Linked DNA regions of Homo sapiens: all the other regions are linked to region 2. The links are contacts of gene promoters, found by promoter capture Hi-C in human tissues and cell types (Jung and others, 2019). All regions are on one chromosome and are shown on one strand. The core of a region is centred on a gene start or on the middle of the fragment in contact, and the rest is flanking DNA. Distances in the headings are between cores, read along the strand shown.

Region 1 (2,700 bases), core at 148-2,647, 260 kb before region 2:
CTTAGGACCTAATGGGACCCCCGAAAGGAGCCAAGTGGGGCCCTCGGCCTCTTCCTTCGTTCCAGGCCCATGATTTTCCCTACACTTCTCCCTGGCCCAGGCTCCAGCCACAGGCACCTCTCCTGCCCCCGCCCACCCTCCTGACCGCAGCTCCCAGGCCCTGGAGACCTCCAGGCTTTCCTGCCCTGGGCAGCCCCACCTCACAGCCAGAGTCAATGCCTTCATGGGAAGGGCTCCCAGCCACACCCAGAGTGGCCCAAAGCTGTTGAAGTCAGCATCCTTTGTCCCATCAGGACCCTCCTGCCTCCTCTCCAGGCCCTTGTTCGCCTCCCCACCCTCCTCAGAGGCCCGGGGAAGGGAAGAGCAGGTCAGTACAGAGGTTCTGTCTACAGGGAGGGGCCCTGGGTCTATGCACAGCTGGAGCTCTGAGCCTTCCACAGCCCGTGTGACTGCTAGAGGGCAGGGGTGCAGGGCTCAGGGGGCCCGGGCTGGTCCTTTGGGGCTGGTGTTCCTACGTCAGTCCCCACCTGGGGAATAAACTCCAGCCTCTCCTGCTCATACAGAAGGGACTGGTTGGGTTTGCTTTATGGGATCTTTGAGACCAAAACAGATGCTCCTGTTTGCTGGGGGAGGGTGTGAGCACGGAGTATTTCTGTCCCTCGTGAAGTCACGTCACACAGGGGAGAGGCGAGGTCGATGGAACTGGCCACGCACAGGCTCTGGCTCTGGAAGGAGGGATGATGAGTGGGCGTTTTCCCGGCAGGCCCCCGGGGTCCTCAGCCTCAGCAACCCAGGGAGAGGACAGAAACGAACCGATGGTTGAGGGATTGTCACGGGAGGAACATGACACCCGAAGGGACTCTAGGTGCCCTCGGAGTGCCACACATGCCCAGACCTTCTCACACCCACACAAATAGGCTCTGCCGTGCACTCCTACACACACACACACACACACACACGCTTGTTCACACTCAGAACCCAGGACAGCCACAGCCACCGCTTAGGGGAAGCCACTGCAGATGCCCCTGGAATGGGCACAGCACAGCCAGGGCGCTCTTCCAGGCAGGCGAGGATAACTTGAGAGTTTCCTAGGGCACCAGGGACAGAGCTCAGAGGCCCCCGAGGTGTGTGTAGGAGGCGGAGGCCCGCAGAGCACAGAGCAGGAGAAGGGCTTGGGCCCTGGAGGAGAAAGCCATTCTGGACACCAGGGGACCTGGACGGAGGGTCCCCACAGCCCGTGCCCCACGCCGCCTGGAGGCCAGAGGGGTCAGTGGCCCTGCTGTCCCGGCTCCATCTTGGTTCTAGCCGCCACCTGCATGAACACAGTGGCCCGGCTTAACGCACTAACCCAGCCTCTCCCTGTGTCCCACAGGGAGTAGCAAGACCCACCCCACACTGCCTTCACCATCTACACCAGTGACGCCGCTGTGTGTCTTAGCATGGAAATAAATAAACCTGAATGTACGTGCTCGCCTCTGGCCTGTGTGTTTGTGCTGCTGGGGTCAAGGGGGTTCCAAACAATCCGGGGGTGAGCAGTCCACTCCGCCTGTGGCCCCAGGGTCAGGCTGAGGCTGCGCACTGGGAACCTGGCACATCGGGGCTCCGTGGCCAACTCAAGGCGTTCCTCTGGGCAAGTCACTTGTCCACTCCGGGACTCAGTTTGTCCAACTGTAAAATAAGTGGTAATGCCAGTCTCATCTCCCTTCAGTCCTTTCTGCATAGATCTCAGGCCTGGAGAGAAGAGGGCAGGCAAGAGTTCGAGACCAGCCTGCAACATGAGGAGACTCTGTCTCTAGAAAACATTTAAAAATCAGCCAGGCGTGGTGCTGCACGCCTGAGGTCCCAGCTACTCAGGAAGCTGAGGTGGGAAGATCACTTGAGTCAGAGAAGTTGGAGCTGCAGTGAGCTGAGCCATGTTCCTGCTCCTGGCTCCCAGACCTCCTGGGACAGTCCCTAGACCACCAGGTTCCCCACCCTGCTGGCCTCACTACTGGGACACTCACTGCCACCCCCAACAACCAACTCTCTGCCTTCCTAGAGCGTTTTCTTTAGGTCGGAGTCACATGGTCCAGGAAGCCTGCCCTAAGTGTCTGCGTCCCCAGGGTTCAGTACAGAGCCTGGCACGTAGCAGGTGCTGAGGACAAGTCTGTAGAAGGAGGGAGGGAGGGGCCCCAGCAACCAGGAGCCTCCCAGGTTGCAGGATCCCTGTGAGCGGAAGCTCCTTCCATCCAGACTGGAGGCCACGGCGCCGCTTCCTGTGTGCCAGGCGCGGGGCTCCCTGCTCCGCTGGAATTACCTCATTTAATCCTCACAACACTTCCACGAGGGATCCTCCCATTTTCCTGGGAAGAAATAAAACTCAGGCGATCCAGGGGCTTAGCCAAGGTCATACAGTCAGGAGCCAGTAGAGCAGGACAGTCCTTGAGAAGCGTGCCTCGGTGACAGGGGCCTCTCCAGACCATAAAAGCCTGCGGGCTCTGCCAAGGGAGCTGACTGTTTCCACACCCTGTAACTGCTCCCAGCACTTTGGGAGGCTGAGGCGGGCGGATCACCTGAGGCCACCAGTTTGAGACCAGCCTGACCAATATGTTGAAGCTGACAAGCTTCAAAACGAACATTGATTGAACTGAAAAATATGATGTACATGTGTCCTTACACACTTTTGTTTTGTTTTGTTTTTTGAGACAGAGTTTCGCTCTC
Region 2 (2,700 bases), core at 12-2,511:
CATACTCTCTTTCCGGACCAGCCTCGACCCCGGTAACTTCCCGGCCTTCTCCACTTCGGACCCTACCCAACATTTTCTGGCCTCCTCGCCCAAGTCTCCCCACGTCCCAAGCAGTCATCCCAAGCTTGTTCCAAAAGCCTCCTCTTCCGCACCAGCTGCTTGGGCACCACGGTTACTCCGGCCCGCATCTCAGCCCCCTCTGCATGTCCTCAGACCCTTCACCTGTCTCCCCAGCCAGGCCCTGACTTCCTAGTCCTCCTCCTGTGTCCACTTACCACCACCCCTCACCCGATGCCTAAGGCGGCCACTCCTCCCCATCCCCATCCCAACTCCATCGCGGAGCCTCTGACCCATCCACCCGGCTCTCCGTGTGAACTGTTCGGCCCTCCACCTTTCCCCACCGCCGGGAGGCCCTGCCTGCCCCGGTGCGCCTCTTCCTCGGCCGCCGCGGGGCCTCTCAGCGCCGCCTGCAGTCCCGGCTGAGCCCGCGCCCTCGGCCCGCGCAGAGCGACCCCACAGCACTCCCAGCGCTCGGCGTCCCCTCGGCCTCCCCCAGTCCCGGGCCAGCTCTCCCTGCCCTGACCCCGTCTCGGGCCTGGCCTCGCCCTCGCTGTCCCCGGCCTCTCCTCGGGTCCACTTGGGCCTCCGAGGCCCCCGGGGCGCCTGAGGAGCCGTCCGCCCGGGTTGTCCCTCCGTGCCCGTGGGCCCCTCCATGCCCCGGCTGCCCGTCCATGCCCCGTGGGCCCCGGCTCAGATGCCGAACGCCCCGGCTGCCCCTCCACGCCCCGGCCGCCCCTCCACGCCCCGGCCGCCCCTCCGTGCCCCGTGGGCCCCGCCTCACGTGCCGCCCGCCCCGGATCCCCTCCATCCCCGCTGGGCCCGCCTCAGGCACCCTCCGTCCCTGCTGCCCCTCCGTCCATCCGGGCCCTGCGTCCCTCGCCGCGCCGTCGCCCCGGCGGCCGTCCCCACCCTCCCTCCTCCCCGCTTCCGCACGGCCGCCGGACACTCACTACTCCTTGAGCAGCACCATGTCGCTTCGCGGCTCGGTGGCTGCCCGCGGCCCGCCCGGCCTCCCGCCCGCTGCCCGCCGGCCGCTCTCCCCGTGGCCCGGCCCGGCCCGGCTGCCTGTGCGTCTTCGTCGTGCTCTGCTCCGTCCCCGCCGCCCTCGCCGCGGTCGCCGCGCCGGCTCCTGCCGCCCGGGCCTCGTCGCCTCTCGCGCCGCTGCCGACGCCGCCCGGAGCTCCGGTTCCGCAGCGCCGCGCGGGGGCGGGGCGTCTCTGCGGCAACCAGAGCGTCACACGCCGCGGTGCGCGCTGACGTCACGCGGGGCCGAGCCTTCCCAGGCCCGCCCTCCCGTCCTTAAGTGGGCCGCGGCGGCGCTGTCGGTTCCGAGGTGGGGCCCCGCGGCTGGGGCCAGACCCGGCAGAAGGCGGAGCAGACTAGGGTGTCCGTCACCGTCCTCGGTGTGAACCGCCACGGATGCACGCGGGTGCTGGCTGGGGGGCCTCCCCGGTTGAGGGAATTGAGACCCAGGAAAAGGTTGTTTCAAAAAATATTAATAGCCGCGCGCGGTGGCCCACGCCTGTAATCCTTGCACCTTGGGAGGCCGAGGCGGGCGGATCACCTGAGGTCAGGAGTTCGAGACCAGCCTGGCCAACATGATGAAACCCCGTCTCTACTAAAAATACAAAAATTAGCTGGGCGTGGAGGCACGCACCTGTAATCCCAGCTACACGGGAGGCTGAGGCGGGAGAATCGCTTGTACCGGGAGGCAGAGTTTGCAGTGAGCCGAGATCGCGATCGCGCCATTGCACTCCAGCCTGGGGGACAAGAGTGAAACTTCGTCTCAAAAAAAAAAAAAAGAAAAGAAAAGGGCTGTGAGGCCGGGCGCGGTGGCTCCTGGCAGTAATCCCAGGCACATCATGCCTGTAATGCAGCACTCAGGCGGGCGCATCACCTGAGGTCAGGAGTTCCAGACCAGATGGCGAAACCCCATCTCTACTAAAAGTACAAAAATTAGCCGGGCGTGGTGGTGGACGTGGTGGTGGTAGTCCCAGCTGCTCGGGAGGATGAGGCAGGAGAATCGCTTGAACCCTGGAGGCGGAGGTTGCAGTGAGCCGAGATCGCACCATTGCACTCCAGCTGGGGCGACAGAGCGAGACTCTGCATCAAAAAAAAAAAAAAAAAAAAGAATGAAAAGGGCTGTGAGAAATGAGACACAGGCTTAGCGGCATTACACGGAGGGGCACCTAATTGAGCGTCAGGGATGTAGTCAGGGAAGGCTTCCTGGAGGAAGAGATTCTCAGATCTGCAGAGGGCTTCGGAGAAGAGCATAGCAGGCAGAGTGAATGCAAAGGCTGGAGGCAAGAGGGAGAGCATGGTGCATTTGGAGAACTGACAAGTGAGTGGAACAGAACATTTCAGGGCTGAGCAGCTCAATAGGGGAGGGTTCCTGGTGAACGATGATAAGGTATTTGGAGTCCACCCTAAGGGCGGTGGGAGGGCATGTAAGGGCTCTGAGCAGTGACATGAGCGGGTGTCCTGGGCGAAGGCTCACTCTAGTGGTTGGGTGGACAGAGGGGATGGAATGCCAGAGCGTAGGCAGGGAGACCGGCGAGGAGGCTGCTGCAGATGTCCAGGTGCAGGTGGACTAGGACAGTGGGAGGGAAGAAAAGGAAGGGATGGATTCAGGAGCAACTC
Region 3 (2,700 bases), core at 41-2,540, 270 kb after region 2:
TTGTGAGGCAGAGTCTTGCTCTGTCACCCAGGCTGGAGTGCAGTGGCACCATCTCGGCTCACTGCACCCTCCGCCTCCCAGGTTCAAGCAATTCTCCTGCCTCAGCCTCCGAGTAGCTGGGATTACAGATGCGCGCAACTACGCCCGGCTAATTTTTGTATTTTTAGTAGAGACGGGGTTTCACCATGTTGGCCAGGCTGGTCTCGAACTCCTGACCTCAGATGATCCGCCAGCCTTGGCCTCCCAAAGCGCTGGGATTACAGGCGTGAGCCACCGCGCCCGGCCTGATCCCTCTCTAGTTTCTCTGAGACACATCCCAGATTTTTCTTTCTCACCCACCCCAGCAACTATTCATTTAACAAGGTATTTCCCTCTCTTACATAGTTCAGCGTTCTGATTAAGTCCTCACCATCTCGTCTGGCATTCTTCCTAGAGTGTTATAATTAATGTCCATGCCATTGGCACCACTCCCCACTTTCAATCCAGCCTCCAACACTGAGACAGAAGTCAGTGCTCTGCCCTTAAATTCATCAACGCTACTCCAAGCATACCAGGAAGCCCAGGACAAAACCATCCTTACTTGACCCTTGTCTGACTTTCTAATTCTCAGGTGTCACTTACTCCTCTGCATGCACCCTTGCATACTGAACAACTCATTGCTATCCCCGGCTTGCCAGGCTATTTCAACTCTCCAATGTTTTGGCATAGGCTACTCATGCTTTCCGGACCAACCCTACCCTGGCTTATGGAGTCCACCTGGAAAATTCCCACACGTTCTTCGACTCGGCTCAAATGGCACCTCCTCCGGGACGGCGTCCCTGATTTCCCAGCTGTGATTCCAACACCCTTGGGGCCTGTACCACGTCTACCTGGAGGTGGGGTTACTGACGGCATAAAGTGCCCCCACACACTGTCCTCTTCTCTAAGGACGGGGGCCGGGTCTGATTCCCTTTCGGAGACCCCCCACCCCCACCCCCCACCGCCACGGTGCCAAGCTCAGGGCTTGGAGGCGGGAAGTCAGCCCCGCGTTGCTGGACGAATCGGGTCACTACTGCGACTCTATTTAGCAGCGGAGGTCTCAAGGAACAGCTTTAACCTCCTCTGGGATACCAACCCGTGCACTCGCCAGAGACCGAGGCGAGAACGCCTCGAGAACCGCTCAGACGCGCCCGGAACTGCGCCCTGGTCTCCCTCCCAGCGCCCGCGCAGCTCCTGGCGCGCCCCTTGGCGCCCCGCTCCGCCCCGCACCGCGTCCGGCGTCCCGCGCCAGGCCTCGCTTGGGACCATGGGTGGGTCACGTGGGCCGCGCCTCGGCCAATGCGGCGGCTGCGTAGCGCCCGGGCCCGCCCCTGAGCCGCGCGCACGTCGGGGGCGGGAGCGGTGCGCGCAACTTCTCGGGCCAATAACTGCGCAGCGCGCGGGACCCGGGTGGGGAAGCTGGAGCTGTTGCGGGGTCCGCGGGGAAGTCTTGGCGGTGGAGCCATGGTCGGCCAACTGAGCGAGGGGGCCATTGCGGTGAGGAGGTGCCGGGGGCTGGGCCGGCGGTCCGGGGTGGCTGCGGCCCCGAGCCTCGCGGAGTAGAGAGGGGGAGGGGAGCCCGGGGCGACGGGGGATGAACGCGAGGGGAGGAGATGGCGGGGGGCGGTGGGGACCCGCCGGGCGTCCCTCTAGTGTCATCGCCCCCTCCTCAAAGCATTCTTTCGATCGTCTTTAAAACATGCTCACATTTTTCCTACGTAAGAACAAACTAAATAAACGCTTGCCTTTCTCTGCATCTTCCACCTGCGGACACTTTCTGTCTCTTCTCCTTTCCCCACCCACAGCCAAACTTCTTGTCTGGTTTCAGCCACTTCCTTTCCTCGCCTTTCATCAACTCTTTAACCCACTCCAGTCATCCCTTTGATCGCTGTAGAAAACCCTGGCTGAAGGTACCAGTGGCCTCCAAGTTGCTAAATCCAGCCCTTTTCCGTTTTCAGCTTACCTGAGTTCTCAGCAGCGTTTGCGTTTAAGCCCTGCTTGCTTCAGGTCACACCCTCTTCCTTGGTTTTTAGTGGCTCAGCTTGGCAGGTCTATCCCCGTCTTATTTGTAAGTCCCTCTTTGTAAATTTTTGTTGAATCAAGGCTCCCTCTAGGCCCTCTTGACTCCCGAGGCAATTTCTTTTTTTTTCTCCAGCCTGGGCGACACTCACTGTCGCCCAGGCTGGAGTGCAGAGGCGCGATCTCGGCTCACTGCAACCTCCGTCTCCCGGGTGCAAGTGAGTCTCCTGTCTCAGCCTCCCGAGTAGCTGGGACTACATGTGTGCGCCACCACACTCGGCTACTTTTTGTGTTTTTATTAGAGACTGGGTTTCATCATGTTGGCCAGGCTGATCTCGAACACCAGACCTCAAGTTATCCGCCCGCCTCGGCCTCCCAAAATGCTGGAATTACAGGCATGAACCACCGCGCCTGGCCCCAAGGCAATTCCATTGCCATCTATTAATATATGTCAGTTGCTCACAAATTTCTTTGTACAGAGCCACCTTTACTCTAAAAGACAAACTTCCGTCATCTGTCTGCTTATTCCATGCTTCAGAGGGTTTTAAGTTCAGTATACGTATCCCAAAGCAAATTCTTTATCTTTCTAAGTCTGGGCCTCTTGATCCCTATCTCCACGGATGGCACCATTATCTATTCAGTTCAGTGCTAACCAGAAATTGA
Region 4 (2,700 bases), core at 50-2,549, 320 kb after region 2:
GATTCTCCTGCCTCAGCCTCCCGAGTAGCTGGGATTACAGGCACCCACCACCACGCCCGGCTAATTTTGTATTTTTAGTAGAGACGGGGTTTCACCATGTTGGCCAGGATAGTCTTGATCTCTTGACCTCGTGATCCGCCCGCCTCATCCTCCCAAAATGCTGGGGTTACAGGCATGAGCCACTGCGCCCAGCCTAAAAAAAATTTTTTTAATGGGCCTGGGCATGGAAGTCCCAGTTACTTAGCAGGGCAAAGGTGGGAGGATCACTGAGCTCAGGGGGTCAAAGCTGCCTTGAGCCATGATTGCATCATTGCACTCCAGCCTGGGTGACAGAGTGAAACTCTGACACAATTTTTTTTAATTTAAATATTATAAAAAATATATAATTACGAAGATACCAGCTTCAGCCGACATGACCGTGACCTGTGTGAAAGCTGGGCGGGTGGTGGGAAACCTGTGTCTGTCGCGTAGCAGCAAGTTGCATGTGGAGAAGCAGAAGCATGTCACATCAAGCGCTCGTCATCGTTATTCGTTCACGTTTTCAGGTTTGACGCAGAAGGACAAGCCTTAGATGGTGTTTCCATCTCTGATCTAAAGAGCGGCGGAGTCGGAGGGAGTAACACCAACTGGAAAACCTTGTATGAGGTCAAATCCGAGAACCTGGGCCAAGGCGACAAGGTACCCAGCATTCCTAACCACCTTCACAAAGGGCTGTAAAGTGTGCAGAAGGATGGATTTAGAAACTTGGTTTCCAGCACCAGCTGTCAGAGCCGTAATTCTTACCCGGGGCTGTGACCTGAGCGTGGCATGGGGGTTGAGAATCACTGGCAGAGGGAAGCAGCCAGGTGTGCTCATGGGAATATGTGTTACCCCTCAGGGGACTGGAGGCAGGAGAGTCTGAAGAACTCTTAGAGTCAATTCCTAGAGGGATCTTGGAGCAGGGGTGACAGTCAAGCTTTGTGGTATAATATCACCTGCTTTCGGGTCCACGTTTCTTTCCTGTGATCCTTCCTGCAAATTTAAGCGCCCACATATCAAAAAGATGTTTTTTGAGATGAGCGTTAGTCCGCCTCAGGTCAGACATGAGGCAGTTTCACGGGTGCTGTTCCTGGCTGTAGAATAGTGTATTAACCTCATAGGCTGAGAGCTGCCGGCATTCCCGGACAAGGATTGGCCCTGACATTTGACTTTTAGTTGCAGCTTTTTCCTTTCAGTGTTTGTATTTAATGACCCTCCTCCCATCTTGATCTAAGCCTGTGTTCTGCCAGCAGTTTAGTATTTAGATCATTTATTTCTCCTTTACGCCTGCTCTTTTATTTTCATCATATACAGTGTAGGTTTCATTCCTCCTGTCTCATTTCACTGTATACCCTTATCCATCATTGTCAACAGCAGCTCTTAAGTGCTCTTATAGAACATCTCAAGAATTAAACACTGGACAGATCCTCGTTGTCCTGTCATGGGACACCCACTCTTTCGGTTCTCTGTAATCCCAGCTACCCAGGAGGCTGAGGCAGGTGGATTACATGAGCCCAGGAGTTCGACTGAGCAACATGGAAGACCCCTTCTCTTGAAACAAAAACTTTATTGCTGAAAAATGCTGACAATCATCTGAGTCGTAATCTTCTTGCTGGTGGGGGTTTGTTTCAGGGTTGATGGCTGAGCAGTCACGGCGATGGTTGCTGAACATCGGCGTGTCTTTGGCAGTTTCTTAAAATAAGACAGCAGTGAAGTGTGCCACATTGGTTGACTCTTCCTTTCACAAAAGCTTTCTCCATAGCCGGCGATGCTGTTTGACAGCATTTTACCCACAGGAGAACTTTTTCAAACTGGAGTCTCTCCCTCTCAGGTCCTGTCACTGCTTTATCAGCCAAGCTTATGCAAATTCTAAATCCTTTGTCGTCATTTCAACAATGCTCACAGCGTTCTCACCACAAGAGATTTCATCTCAAGAAAGCACTTTCCTTGCCCATCGTAAGGAGCAGCTCCTTATCCGTTCAAGTTTGATCGTGAGATTACAGCAGTTCAGGCCCATTTTCAGGCTCCATTTGTAATTCTAGTTCTCTCGTTATTTTCGTCACATCTACAGATCCCTCCTCCACCAAAGTCTTGAAGCCTCAGTGTCTACCTTGAGGGTTGGAATCAACTTGTTCCAAACTCCCGTTGATGTTGGGATTTTGATCTCCTCCCATGAATCATGAATGTTCCTTTTTTTTTTAACTTGAGACAGGGTCTCATTCTGTCACTCAGGCTGGAGTGCACTGGCTTGATCACAGCTCACTGCAGTCTCAACCTCCCCAGGCTCCCAAGCTGGGACTACAGGTGCTGCCACACCTGGCTAATTGTATTTTTTGTAGAGACTGAGTTGTGTCATGTTGCCCAGGCTGCTCTCAAACTCCTGGGCTCAAGGGATCTCCCTGCCTCAACCTCTCAAAGTGCCAGGAGTTACAGGTGTGAGCGACTGTGCCCAGCCAACTGTTCTTAATAGCATCTAGAATGGTGAATCCTTTTCAGGTTTTCAATTTACTTTCCCCAGATCCATCAGAGGAATCACTGTGGCAACTATCGCCTCATGAAATATGTCTCTTAGACTTAAAAAGTCAAAATTACTCCTTGATTTGCATGGGCTGCAGAATAGATGTTGTTATCAAGCATGAAAACAATATTAATCTCCTTGTTCTGTGCATCTCCATTGAGCCC
Region 5 (2,700 bases), core at 119-2,618, 350 kb before region 2:
CCAGGCTGGAGTGCAATGGCACAATCTCGGCTCACTGCATCCTCCGCCTCCCGGGTTCAAGTGATTCTCCTGCCTCAGCCTCCCGAGTAGCTGGGATTACAGGCGCCCGCCACCACGCCCGGCTAATTTTGTATTTTTAGTAGAGAAGAGGTTTCATCATGTTGGTCAGGCTGGTCTCGAACTCCTGATCTTGTGATCCACCCGCCTCGGGCTCCCAAAGTGCTGGGATTACAGGCATGAGCCACCGCTCCCGGCCTGAGATGTGAAATGTTACACAGGACTTGGACTTCCCCGCCCCCCACCACCACCTTAAACCTAAAGATAAGCTAACTTCAGGTCCCTTCAACCTAAAATGAACATTTATTTTGGCTTTCATCAGTTTTTGGAATCTATGATACTAGGATGTGTGTGTATATATATATATTTCCTCTCCATGAGTAACCACCACCCCAGGGATGACTTAGGCAAAATATTTAAATTATTCCTTAACAAGTTTAAATTACCCTAACAATGCTGAATATCTACAGTTAATAGCAATTTAAAGGAATATAAAGGAGAGATTTAAGATTTGAATATAAAAATTCTGATCCTGGCCGGGTGCAGTGGCTCATGCCTGTAATCCCAGCACTTTGGGAGGCTGAGGCAGGTAGATCACCTGACGTCAGGAGTTCGAGACCAGCTTGACCAACATGGAGAAACCCCATCTCTACTAAAAATACAAAATTAGCCAGGCGTAGTGGCACATGCCTGTAATCCCAGCTACTCGGGAGGCTGAGGCAGGAGAATCGCTTGAACCTGGGAGGCGGATGTTGCAGCGAGCCAAGATCGTGCCACTGCACTCCAGCCTAGGCAACAAGAGCGAAACTCCACCTCAAAGAAAAAAATATATATATTTGATTGTACATAGTTTTTCCCTGTAATGTGGCAGCTATCTCGGTGTATATAAGCTCAATGGCCAAGTTCTATTTCTCTCCAAATAAAATACTCAGACCAAAAAAGTATTGCTCTTGACCAGGTGGGGTGGCTCACGCCTATAGTCCCAGCACTTTAGGAGGTGGAGGCAGGCAGATTGCTTGAGTCCAGGTGTTTAAGACCACCCTGGGCAACATGGCAAAACCCCATTTCTACAAAACATACAGAAATTAGGTAGGCGTGATGGTGTGTGCCTGTAGTCCCAACTACTCAGGAGGCTGAGGCAGGAGAATCACTTGAACCCAGGAGGCAGAGATTGCAGTGAGCCTAGATCTCCCCACTACACTCTAGCCTGGGTGACAGAGCAAGACTCTGTCTCAAAAAAAAAAAAAAGAAAAGAAAGAGCTCTCCCTCTCCCTCTCTCTCCACGGTCTCCCTCTGATGCCGAGCCGAAGCTGGACTGTACTGCTGCCATCTCGGCTCACTGCAAGCTCCCTGCCTGATTCTCCTGCCTCAGCCTGCCGAGTGCCTGCGATTGCAGGCGCGCGCTGCCATGCCTGACTGGTTTTCGTATTTTTTTGGTGGAGACGGGGTTTCGCTGTGTTGGCCGGGCTGGTCTCCAGCTCCTAGCCGCGAGTGATCTGCCAGCCTCGGCCTCCCGAGGTGCCGGGATTGCGGACGGAGTCTCGTTCACTGAGTGCTCAATGGTGCCCAGGCTGGAGTGCAGTGGCGTGATCTCGGCTCACTATAACCTCCACCTCCTAGCCGCCTGCCTTGGCCTCCCAAAGTGCCCAGAGTGCAGCCTCTGCCCGGCCGCCACCCCGTCTGGGAGGTGTACCCAGCAGCTCATTGAGAACGGGCCATGATGACGATGGCGGTTTTGTCGAATAGAAAAGGGGGAAATGTGGGGAAAAGAAGGAGAAATCGGATTGTTGCTGTGTCTGTGTAGAAAGAGGTGGACATAGGAGACTCCATTTTGTTCTGTACTGGGAGAAAATCTTCTGCCTTGGGATCCTGTTGATCTGTGACCTTACCCCCAACCCCCGTGCTCTCTGAAACATGTGCTGTGTCCACTCAGGGTAAATGGATTAAGGGCGGTGCAAGATGTGCTTTGTTAAACAGATGCTTGAAGGCAGCGTGCTCGTTAAGAGTCATCACCAATCCCTAATCTCAAGTACCCAGGGACACAAACACTGCGGAAGGCCGCAGGGTCCTCTGCCTAGGAAAACCAGAGACCTTTGTTCACTTGTTTATCTGCTGACCTTCCCTCCACTATTGTCCTATGACCCTGCCAAATCCCCCTCTCCGAGAAACACCCAAGAATGATCAATAAATACTAAAAAAAAAAAGAAAGAAACTGAACACCTAAATAGAACTTACTATGTGCCAGGCTCAGCCCTTATATCAACTTGCTCAGTTCTCACAAATCTGCGAGGTAGGGAAGCTGTTATAACCCCCTGCTCCAGAGGAGGAGAGCGGGGCCCACAGGGGCTGTGTCATTTGCCTAGAGTCACGCAGGAGTGAGTAGCAGAGGCAGCCGCAAACCCAGCTCCGAGTCTTCCTCTGTTCCCTGCACTAGACTCACTCCTCTCACGTCAGAAGTGGAGAAAGGGGCCAGAGGAAAGCTGACGCCATTGGCAAAATCACGTCCAGCCTGAAGGGGCCCGTCGGCTCTAACTAATGCCTCCCATTCACATTGCCCATCTTCCCATCTTTCAAGAAAATCCAGAAATCCAGATTGCTAGGTAAAACCTGGTTTTAAATGGATCCAATTTTGTTTTAACCCTC

Evidence for each region. The method cuts DNA at HindIII sites, captures the fragments that hold promoters and counts their contacts. A contact is called where the count stands out against the background at its distance.
Region 1: a fragment that was not itself captured here is called in contact with the fragment with the promoter of PITPNA in region 2 in 4 of the 25 tissues and cell types used here (dorsolateral prefrontal cortex, lymphoblastoid cells, mesenchymal stem cells and 1 more).
Region 3: the fragment with the promoter of SMYD4 here is called in contact with the fragment with the promoter of PITPNA in region 2 in 1 of the 25 tissues and cell types used here (dorsolateral prefrontal cortex).
Region 4: a fragment that was not itself captured here is called in contact with the fragment with the promoter of PITPNA in region 2 in 2 of the 25 tissues and cell types used here (dorsolateral prefrontal cortex and mesenchymal stem cells).
Region 5: a contact is called between a fragment that was not itself captured here and the fragment with the promoter of PITPNA in region 2, in 3 of the 25 tissues and cell types used here (dorsolateral prefrontal cortex, lymphoblastoid cells and spleen).

Annotation. Positions count from the first base shown.
Region 1 is chr17:1,299,515-1,302,214 of GRCh38, forward strand. TRARG1 (trafficking regulator of GLUT4 (SLC2A4) 1 (gene/pseudogene)) reads left to right here. Exons shown (of 3, transcript NM_172367.3): 3 at 1-1,464. Among named protein-coding and RNA genes, the nearest start is that of TRARG1, 21 kb to the left of the region's middle. The HindIII fragment of the contact is 5,551 bases long and covers 1-2,700 here.
Region 2 is chr17:1,561,531-1,564,230 of GRCh38, forward strand. It overlaps PITPNA (phosphatidylinositol transfer protein alpha), which reads right to left and starts at 1,262. Exons shown (of 12, transcript NM_006224.4): 1 at 1,011-1,262. The coding sequence starts at 1,030. RefSeq lists enhancers at 215-314, 1,083-1,582 and silencers at 425-554, 1,035-1,084, 1,155-1,434. The HindIII fragment of the contact is 13,696 bases long and covers 1-2,700 here.
Region 3 is chr17:1,828,612-1,831,311 of GRCh38, forward strand. SMYD4 (SET and MYND domain containing 4) reads right to left here and starts at 1,291. Exons shown (of 11, transcript NM_052928.3): 1 at 1,115-1,291. RPA1 (replication protein A1) reads left to right here and starts at 1,394. Exons shown (of 17, transcript NM_002945.5): 1 at 1,394-1,515. The coding sequence starts at 1,483. RefSeq lists a silencer at 1,143-1,662 and an enhancer at 2,290-2,700. The HindIII fragment of the contact is 28,265 bases long and covers 1-2,700 here.
Region 4 is chr17:1,883,267-1,885,966 of GRCh38, forward strand. It overlaps RPA1 (replication protein A1), which reads left to right. Exons shown (of 17, transcript NM_002945.5): 13 at 546-678. Among named protein-coding and RNA genes, the nearest start is that of RPA1, 55 kb to the left of the region's middle. The HindIII fragment of the contact is 3,595 bases long and covers 1-2,700 here.
Region 5 is chr17:1,213,929-1,216,628 of GRCh38, forward strand. It overlaps a transcript of ABR not described here. Among named protein-coding and RNA genes, the nearest start is that of ABR-AS1, 34 kb to the left of the region's middle. RefSeq lists an enhancer at 2,419-2,700. The HindIII fragment of the contact is 9,567 bases long and covers 1-2,700 here.